Linked DNA regions of Homo sapiens: region 2 is linked to region 1. Evidence: promoter capture Hi-C in human tissues and cell types (Jung and others, 2019). All regions are on one chromosome and are shown on one strand. The core of a region is centred on a gene start or on the middle of the fragment in contact, and the rest is flanking DNA. Distances in the headings are between cores, read along the strand shown. Region 1 holds the start of WNT3A (Wnt family member 3A). Region 2 overlaps OBSCN (obscurin, cytoskeletal calmodulin and titin-interacting RhoGEF).

The links. Contacts are between HindIII fragments. The study calls those that stand out against the background at their distance.
Region 2: a contact is called between a fragment that was not itself captured here and the fragment with the promoter of WNT3A in region 1, in 1 of the 25 tissues and cell types used here (spleen).

Annotation. Positions count from the first base shown.
Region 1 is chr1:228,004,072-228,009,107 of GRCh38, forward strand. WNT3A (Wnt family member 3A) reads left to right here and starts at 2,927. Exons shown (of 4, transcript NM_033131.4): 1 at 2,927-3,128. The coding sequence starts at 3,058. RefSeq lists an enhancer at 441-490. The HindIII fragment of the contact is 17,022 bases long and covers 788-5,036 here.
Region 2 is chr1:228,353,065-228,357,778 of GRCh38, forward strand. All of the region lies in intron 90 of OBSCN (obscurin, cytoskeletal calmodulin and titin-interacting RhoGEF), which reads left to right. It overlaps LOC101927401 (a long non-coding RNA gene), which reads right to left. Exons shown (of 9, transcript XR_007066915.1): 9 at 3,973-4,714. Among named protein-coding and RNA genes, the nearest start is that of TRIM11-AS1, 39 kb to the right of the region's middle. The HindIII fragment of the contact is 8,299 bases long and covers 1-4,714 here.

The DNA.
Region 1 (5,036 bases), core at 1,677-4,176:
CCTCCAGCACCATCCATACATGGGGAGTTTTGTTTTATCAAACACATGGCTGGCTGCTCAGGGCTTAGCTCCAGAGCTGCCCGGTTGTCAGGCCTTCTCACACGTGCCCTCTCTGAGGACGATTAGCCCTTTCCTGACGCTGGCTTGCAAAGGTCTCACCCACCTCCCCGTTCCAAGTGTTGGAATGTGGGTCTGTGTCCTGGCCAACAAGGAGGTCTGTGGAGACAGGACCGGGTCTCAGTCACCGTTCAGCAGCCACCCGGCATGCCCCCAGGAGCCTGCCCTATGCCTTGACCTCAACCTACGCCATCCCAGTCCCCAGCGCAATGCACAGGTGGGGACATAGACCTTGACAGACTGGTCAGGGACAGCTCCCTTTAGGCAACAGCAGAGGGCGCTTCCAGGGAGGCCCCTCACCTTCCTCTGCACCCCAAGCAAGGGACAAGAGGTGCTGTAGGCAACATCACCCGAGCCTGGAAGACACTCAGGAGAAGCCCCTCAGGCCCCTGACACCCAGCTGGGGTCCCACCCTTGCTCTCCCACTCTGCTCTCCACCCCACCCCAGCCCAGCCCCACTGACTTGGCTGCTCAGGAGCCGAGGCTCTCGGAGGCTCACAGAGGGAAGGAGGAGCCCCACGTGGTACAGGCAGGTACCGAGGAGCTAGTTCCAGAAGCCTCCGCTCGTTCCTCCATGCAGCCTACCCTGGCTCCCTGGTATCCAGAGTCTTCAGAAACAGGAGCCCTCGCTTGAGAGCCTGGCCTGGGCAGGCTGAGCTCCTGCCTGGGGCCTCGGAGTCTGCTCCTCCCTTCATCTTCTGCAGCCTGGGAAGCGGCCGGATCTCAGTGTGTGTACTACCCAGGTGGCACGGGCAGAGGATGGGGCCTGATGGGGGAGAAGAAAGCAGCCAGGAGGAGGGGCTTGGGAAACCAAGGGGCAAGAGGGCAGGACTGAGCAGGCTGCGCTCACCTGCCCCCTTCAGTGAGGTCACGAGGCCCATCCTGTCGGTGGGCAGAGCTGGCATCCTCTAGGGGGCTCTAATCCCCGAGCCTCATTTCTGGGGAGGTGGGGGTAACAAGAGTCTGCGTGCCTCAGGCTGGGCTCAGGCGCCCACCCCACCTGCAGCCCAGGTTTTCCCCAGTACCACAATTGGGTGGGATTTTTGCTGCAAGGCCAAGTCCAGAGGAGCACAAACACGCTCCTCCCCTCCCCCTCCCTGACCCCACCGCCGCTTCATTCCAGAGCTCTTCCCTCTTTCCCTCTGAGGGTGGGGGCCCCGCAGTGCCTGGGAGAAGCGGGTGGGCGGCCGGGCATGCGTAGCGGAAACTGGATTCCCAAGGTAGTGAGGAGCAAAGGGAACTTTTTTTCAAAGAGAAAGGCTGTCACTCTGAATTCAGGACTCCTGACATAGTCACCAGGTGACCCCTAGGGCCGGTGTCCACAGGACCACAGGCTCCCTCTGCAAACGCAGAACCAAGTTGTGAGTGGGGCACACTGTGGGAAGCAGCTGCCTCCATCAGCCAGCCAGTGACACACCTGGGGACATCTCAGCCACCCCCTCCCTGAGAAGCTGCACAGAAGCGGCCACATGCCCATCCCTGCCTCTCCATGCACCTCCCTCCCGCAACTCTGCAGCCGCACAGGAGGCCTAGCCCACAGGCTGGGCAGTGCAGTATCCCCAGAGAACACACCACGGATGAGTCTGGAGTTGCTTGGAGCTCTCAGAAGCTCCCGGAGCCTCCTTCCTCAATTCCAACGCGGTAACCAAGATTCCTGCTGAGCTTAGGTCACAGTGTGACTGCAGGAGGACCAGCCGCGATGGGAGAGTGCCTCTTAACCATCCCAGTTATCAGGTCCCCCGGGGGAGGCTGGGGACACTTCCCCTCTGCAAATTACAATCTCCCCAGGCGGCTCCCGGGGCAACACATGGATATGCAAATGACTGGGAGCTGGAGAGTTGACTGGTCACTGGGTGACCTTGGGCAAGTCACTTTCCCTCTCAGGTCTTCCCCTCTCCATCAGCAAACTCCTAAAGCTTAACTAAACAGTCAGAAATCCCTCTGTCGGAACAGGCTGCATAGCTCTGGGCAGACCTGGAGGTTGGTGGTCCCAGAACCTGGGGGCAGCACTGCGCTTCCCCACCGTCCCATCGCGTCAGGGGCTTCCACTGTTCTCTTCCCTGGTGGAGTGATGGGGAGAAAAATGGAGGGGTCAATCCCTGCGCCACAGAGAGAGTCCCACTCGTCCCCAGCTGTGACCCACAGACGCGTGGCTGCACCTTGGAGGTCCACCTGGCCGCTGTCCCCATTGCAGGCTGCACCCATCCCGGACCCTTTCTATCCGCCGAAGGCGCAGGCAGCTCTGGTCTCAGCGGAAGGAGTCCGGCCGCAGGCAGACGGGGCCAAAGGACGTGCACCCGACAACCGTCCGCTCCCTCCCCAAACCCCCGCCCCGAGAAGGTTGATGGATGAAGGGGAGCCCTAGCCCAGCCACCTCGGGGGCAAGAGACGGAGCTCGCCACAGACCAGGAGCGAGAGGGGGACTGCGGGTCCCACCGTGAGCGCAGGGCGCGCGGGGCTGGAAACCCAGGACGCGGCCCGGGAGCTCCAGGAGGGCGCCTGCGGATCGCGCGGCCCCGGGCCGGCCGCCTGCCCATCTGGCGCACCCCAGCGCGCCGCGCACACCTGGGGGCCCGCACACCAGCACGTCCTCAGACACACCGACACCCACGGCAGCAGGCGGGGGCCAACGCCGCCGCCGCGGTTCGGGCTCCCGTGGCCCCGCCTGCCCCTGCCTGCCCCGCCCGGGCCCCGGCCCCGGCGGGCGCCCCCCGCGGCGCTGCCCCGCCCCCGCCGCCCCGCGCCGCCCCGGGCCTCGGCCCGCAGCCCGGCCGCCGGCCCACCTGGCGCAGCGCCGCCCTCGGAGCCCGCGCACACCCGCGCACCCGCGGCCGCAGGAGGGCCCAGCGACGCCGCCGCGCCAGCTCCCAGGGCCCGGCCCCCCCCGGCGCTCACGCTCTCGGGGCGGACTCCCGGCCCTCCGCGCCCTCTCGCGCGGCGATGGCCCCACTCGGATACTTCTTACTCCTCTGCAGCCTGAAGCAGGCTCTGGGCAGCTACCCGATCTGGTGGTGAGTGAGCCTCCTCGCGTTCGCCCCTGCCCCTGTGCGCCGCGCCCGCAGCAGACGGTCCCCTCGGGCAGGGACCCCGCGGTGGCCCGAGCCCGCGCCCTTCTGCTCCAGCCCCGCGTGCGGGCCGCGGGCGGTTGGTTTTCCTTGACGGCCACTTTGGACCTGTTCAGGCCGCTGGGACGCGTGGGTGGCGGAGTTTCCGGAGACATTGATTCCCGAGCGGGGGAGTAGGGGAGGTTGCGGAGGTCCTAGCTGCCCCTGGCGTCGGACAGGGCGAGCAGTGGGCTGGGGAGAGGCTGAAAGAAGGTCGGCACGCACGGTCACCGAGGGGACAGGCAGCTCGAGGCCAGGGGACAGGCGAGGGAAGAGGGCCAGCGAGAGAGAATTCGCCGGAGACTTTCCTCAAAAACCGTATCTTACACACAAACACACACACACGTTTTAAAACAAAGTCGATGAGACAAGACTGAACAGCTCGGAGCAGCGTGGTTACGTAAAGAAAGCTGGGACCCGGCGGGGAGTGGCGCAGAGCCGGCGGCGGGGCGCACTGGGGGCCGGCCCTGGGCCCCGCGCGCCTCCCCGCCGCAGTCCGGGCACGGGGGTTTCCAGGGGCCCTCTCTGCGAGCCCTCCGCATGGGTCCACCTGGCAATGAGGGGCTGCTGTAGAGAGAGTTAAGGGTGAGTTAAGCACGGGGTGTGAGGGGCTCCAGGACCCTCAATCAGAAAGCGCTGTGCTGCGCCCTCCACACCAGAAAAGGCGCGTTCCGTGAGACCCTCCCCAGCCTGGCGATGGAAGTGCAGATAAACCAAAGGAAGGGTCCCGAAAGGTCTCTCTCAGGCCTCCCACCTCCACTGCACATATCCTGTGGGAGGGGGAACGGTGGCCACACTTTCGCCAGGGCTTGTGATCCCTCAGAGCCCTCACCAAGCAAGGATCACCCCAGTTCCGAATTAAGGGCGCTCTGAGATGCCCAAGATTGAGGAACACAAGTGGGAGGAATGTGGGCGCGCAGGGCCGGGCGCAGCGCTGGTAGGACCCACAGTTGGAGAGAAGCCTCCCCACAAGCATGCACACTCCCCCCCATCCTTCTCCGACGGCAGCCTGGAATTATAATAATTACGCCGAGGGGAAGGGGGGAGACCCAGCGAGCCGAGGTACATCTAATCCGATAATAATTTTTCTCTTCGAGATGGTTCAGGAGCGGGGGCTCCCGCGGTAGGGGCGCCGGGCCAGGAGCAGCGGGGAGGGGAAGGGGCAGCCCTAGGCAGCTGAAGGGCCTGGAAGAGGCCACGAGGCCGCGGGGACGCGCTTCGGGGACCCCCGCGCGCCCCTATTTCCGCGTGCCCCATTTCCCGTGCGGCACCTGCTGCGCCCAGTGGCCCACCTGAGGGTCAGGCTCGGGGCTCGCCTTGGGGTGCGGGGATACTGACGCGCGTCCAGACGGCCGCAGGGAGCCAGGGGCAGCGCGTCCGTCCGAGAGAGCCCCGAGGGCTGCCGGCTTACGCACCAGGCTTCTAATTAGAACCCGCCGCCGCGTTCCTGAGCGCAAAAGGAAGCTCCTTCGCCCCGCGCCCTTCCCATAAATGTCGCCAGCCTCCTGGCAACCCCGCGCCCTAGGATCTTTGTCTTGTCGGCCCTGAGGGTTCCTAGCCTCGGTCCCCATCCACCTCATATGCATGTATACCTCCTTTTCACCTGGGCCCCCTGTGTTCTACCCTGAATGGACCCTGAGACACCCTCGGGGACAGTCAGGCATTCTGCAGGGGAGCCAGGAGGAGCAGAGAAGTGAAGTCCCTGTACCCTCCGCACCCTCCTATCAAGAGTCCAGGACAGCCCTTTGGCCACACAGGGAAGCGGGGCATAGAACCCCACCTGACACTGACCGGGGTGGGTGGTGAGGACCCCTC
Region 2 (4,714 bases), core at 1,511-4,010, 350 kb after region 1:
AAGTCCCACCCCTGTCCTCGCCACCAAGGCGGCTCCCCACGGCCCAGACCCAGGCTGGACCCTCACAGGCCTGGCCGTGTCCAGGAGGACAAGACTCTCACCCTTCCCAGTCAGGGTCTGCTGCCTGGAGGACCCTGGAGGAGGGGCTGGGCTGGCACCGTGGGGCAGGGAGAGCCACAGATGGTAGACGGGGAGGCTGCTGTGGGCCAGGCACAGGTCCCAGCCCCCTGCTGGAGGCAGCACCTGTGTGGGCTGGTGGAGGGTAGCCCCTGAGCCCAGGGCTTGGATGGAGGCTGGAGAGGTCACTCTGGGTGGGCGGGGTTCCCAAAGCCGCTGCGTTCCGGAGAGGGGAAGCCTGTGCGCAGAGGCCAGGCCTACACCCAGGGCAGCTCGCCGGTGGCAGACAGGAGGCGGTGGGCCTAAGGCAGTGGGGAGGTTGCAGCAGGAACAATAGGAAGGACATCTCTGCAGAGGGCCAGGCCGCTGGGCCCCAGCTTGGCTCCCAGGAGAAGGAGCAAGTGTCAGGGGCCTGGCCCCTCTATTCAGGGTAGGGCTGGCTGTGGAGATACCTGGCCTGGTTTGGGGCTGCTCCTGGGGTCCTGGGAGGGCCTTGGGCTGCAGAATGACTTCACTAGGGATGAAAGGTAAGGGGTGGAGGGAGAGGTGGGGCACATCACCTCATTTCTCCAGGCTCCCGGATGCTTTGTTCAGGGCAGGGGCAGCCAGGATGGGAAGAGGGTCATCGGGCATCCGTCTTGGGCTCCCAGTTGGAGCTGCCCGTCTGGACAGGTTTTGAGCCTTCCATCCCTGGGGACATGCAAGTGGAGGCTGGCCCAACACCTGGCAGAGCTGCAGCTGCCACTGTGGGAGTGGTTGGAATACATGTCCTCCAAGTCTTAAACATTGGCTCCTGCAACCCCACCTCAACTGTCTCTCCCAGTGCCCAGTGTCTGAAAGCCAGTTGCCCATCTGGACCCCACAGAGCTGGGCCATCTTTGATGCCCTCCATGACCCTCAGGGAGACCCCTCCCCTGCTGGGCAGAGGTCCTTGTTCCTCAGCCCACACGGTGCCACTGGCACTGGCCAACCTCCGACTGTGAGTGCCCCATGTCTGACGTGTCTCTGGGGGCCCTGAGACCTCCGTCAGCCCCACAACTGGTGGCCATAGCACCACACAGAACTGCTTCTGGAGCCGCCAGCACCTCAGCCTCCCATGAGTCTTGTGTCTCATGGCCAGCTGGGACACCCAGGGCTGCCTCTTGCTGGTGACAGGAGCGTCCTCCACAGTCGTTCACTTGGCTGTCACAACAAGTCTTTCTCTGGGTCTGGAGGAGGGGGTGGCAGGGGAGAGAGGCCACCAGTGCTGGACAGAGTGTCAGCGCCTCAGCAAGGTGAGAATGCAGGTCCTTGAAGAGCCTGGAGCTGGAGCCAACGCCTCCCCGCTTCTAACTCCTATCCTGCTGCTTCATCTTTAACCCAGCAGCTCTGCAGCCCAAACAGGCCCTGGCAGGCCTCTGCGGGGTGGGCGCTGCCCCCTCACTTGTGAATCATGCTGCGCACGGCTGCATCCCTCCTGTAGTCGCAAATACTCACTCTGGCCCACAGCCGATCAGGTGACAGTTTAGGTCCATGAATGAAGGTGCCAGAGAGTGTATGGGCCCAGAGGTGCCTGGCTGTCAGCCCCAAGTGCAGGGAGGATGAGTGGGGAGGCCCCGGGTTTTCCCATCACTCTGTGCAGTTCCCATCACTGGCCTGCAGGTAGTGGACACATTGGCTTTCTCTGGGGTCAGCTTAGTCTAAACACACAGAGCCTTTTGGTTGGATCTCATTCTCTCCTCACATGGGCTCTCCTCTCTCCAGGGGGAGCCTGTGAAATACACACCTACACATATGTATACACGTGCATGCACACACGTATGCATGCACATACATCTGTGCACATACACACACTTGCACATGTGTGTGCACAGAAATGCACAGTACTGTGGCTCCCAAGTGCACATATAGACGCAGGCAGTCCCTGAAATTCACGTGCTCCTCACCTGAGACAGGTGTAAAGCCTTTCTCCACATGGCAGTCTAGCAAAGCAGATGGTGTCCCACCCCCTGACCCGGAGCTGTGAGGCCATGTGCCCCAGGCCACGTCACTTGACTTCTGGGCCTCCTGCTCGTTTTTTTCCCTCAGGGTGCTGGGGAGGGTCACTGAGATGTGAAGGTGCTGGTGGCCCGTGGACTGCCCGCTGGCCAGCTGGCTTGGGCTGGGAGGGGGCCATCTTTGTGCCCTGATGATTCTGCCCGGGAGCTGCAGGGGAGAGTCCTTGAGGTGACTGGGAGGAGGAGCTGCCTGATCCCAGATGCGTCCCATCCGATCACTGGAACCACAGGCCCCATCCTGCTGGCTCTGGGGAGGGAGGCAGCTAGGAAAACCTGGAGAGACCATGGAGTGTGTGGACTGAGGATGCTCCTATAGGGAGATTTGGGCTGACGCTCACTCAGAGCTCAGCACCCTGCCCAGGCATCCCCTGGGGCTGTTCTTGGTAGGACTTCTGTGGCTTTGCGCCACAAAGCTCAGTTGTGCCACTTTCAGGACTCCAGAGTCCCTCTCTCCTGAGGATTTTTTGTAACAGAGTCCCCAGCTGCCTCAGCCTCAGTGTGGCCGCTGGCTCCCTGTGCAGCCACAGGCCATTTATTCCCTTCTAGGACTCGGTTTCTATGTCTGAGAAGTGGGATTGTAGGTCTGACAAATTCACGGGGCTCCCTTGGCACATGGGTTGAAGGAGAAGCTGGAATTTCTGTGCAGGGAGCGTAGGTAGGGTCCTCATTCTCCCCCCAGTCCCTGCAAGACCCTCGAGAGGGACAGTGGGTCCTGCCTTCACGAGGGGAAGCATTGTCCTCAGCCCTCATTCCGCAGCCACTCAGGACAGGCATCGTCACCTCCATGTCAGAGGCCCAGGAACTGGGGCTCTGAGTAGACAGGCTGCCCAGGGGCAGCTTAGCAGGTGACTACAACGCTGTGCCACTCCGATAGCTCAGCCCCTAGCACTGGCTGGTCTGTAACCCTCGCTATTCCGACTGTTTTCTTTGTAGTCACTGAGCAAGAGACTAAAGTCCCCAAGAAAACCGTCATCATGTAAGTGCAGGCGTGTTCCTAACCTTCCTTCTGACTGCAGTGCCTCCTGCATGCCACTGACCTGCCTGGATCATGCCTGTGTGGCCCAGCCACCTGCTTGCTGCCTGTCTGCTCACATAACATGCACCCTCTGACTGCCAGCACCTTACAGGTACTTGCAGTTACCTTGCATAGGCACCTTCCCCTGGGGCCTCGATTACTTCCACACTTCACAGCGCTCTCTTCCAGGGCCTCAGTACACTCCGTGGTCCCACTGTTTCAGCAGAGTAGACTTATTCCACACACTTCACAGTGGTTCATCCAGGGGTTCATCAGGAGCTAGGCCTGAGACCTGCTTTCCTCAGTGGGCCAGAGACAGAATTCTAATCCTCAGCACCCTGGGATTTACGACAGTGTTGTCCAACAGAACTTTCTGTGGTAACAGAAATGTTCTATATCTGCCAGGCGCAGTGGCGCAGGCCTGTAATACCAGCACTTTGGGAGGCCAAGGCAGGTAGATCCCCTGAGGTCAGGAGTTTGAGACCAGCCTGGCCAACATGGTGAAACCCCATCTCTACTAAAAACACAAAAATCAGCCGGGTGTGGTGGCGGGCCCCTGTAATCCCAGCCACTCAGGAGGCTGAGGCAGGAGAATTGCTTGAACCCGGGAGGCAGAGGTTGCAGTGAGCCAAGATCGTGCCACTGCACTCCAGCCTGGGTAATAGAGCAAGCTCTGTCGCGAAGAAAACAAAAAGAAATGTTCTATATCTCCCCTGTCCACCACAGTAGCCACTAGCCACTTGCGTCTGTTGAAGCATCCGGAATGTTGTCCAGTGTGATTGAAGGACAAATTTTAAATTTTAATTTTTGTTCATTTGAATTTAATTTACATAGTGCATTCATAGTGGACAGCACAGCCTTAGGGCCCTTAGAGGTCCCCAAGCCCGATTTTCACATTTGGAAGATGGGGAAACTGAAGTTCAGGGAAGAGAGGAGGTTAGCTCTGGGTGGCTAATGACTGGAAGCCACTTCCCCAGTGCCACACCCACTGTCCTTTTCTTCATCCTTCAGTGCCTCAAGGATTTAGGAAAATCACACATGCTGCTGCTGCTGAGGTAACACAAGAGGACCAGAACTGGGTGAACCCATAAATGTAGAGTTGGTTTTGACCTGAATAATCTGAGAGGACTTCCAATAGAAGGTGTGTGCAGGCGGGAGTGATGGAAGAGCTTGCAAAAGCCAGGAGGCAGGAAAGACTGTGGTTTCCTAAGGCCAGATGGCTGAGAAGCTCCAGGATGGGAAAACTCTTAGTTCTCAAGGGGCCTTCAGTTGGCCGTATTGTGGGAAAATCCCATTGCCAGACATTTGTTGAGATCCTGGGTTAACCCTTCCTTGGCTTTCTCCCTCCTCCCCTAAAACAAGTTGCTCCTATGATGCCACCCCACAATAGATGGGGCTGCCTGGATGCTGGTGAGCACCCCACTCCTGGAGGTATGCAACGGTGCCAGAGCCTCACATAGAGTAGGTCTACATTTTGTCCCTTTGGGAGCACTATTATTATCTACATTTTATGGATAAGAAAATGGAGGAGCAGAGATGGAGCCAG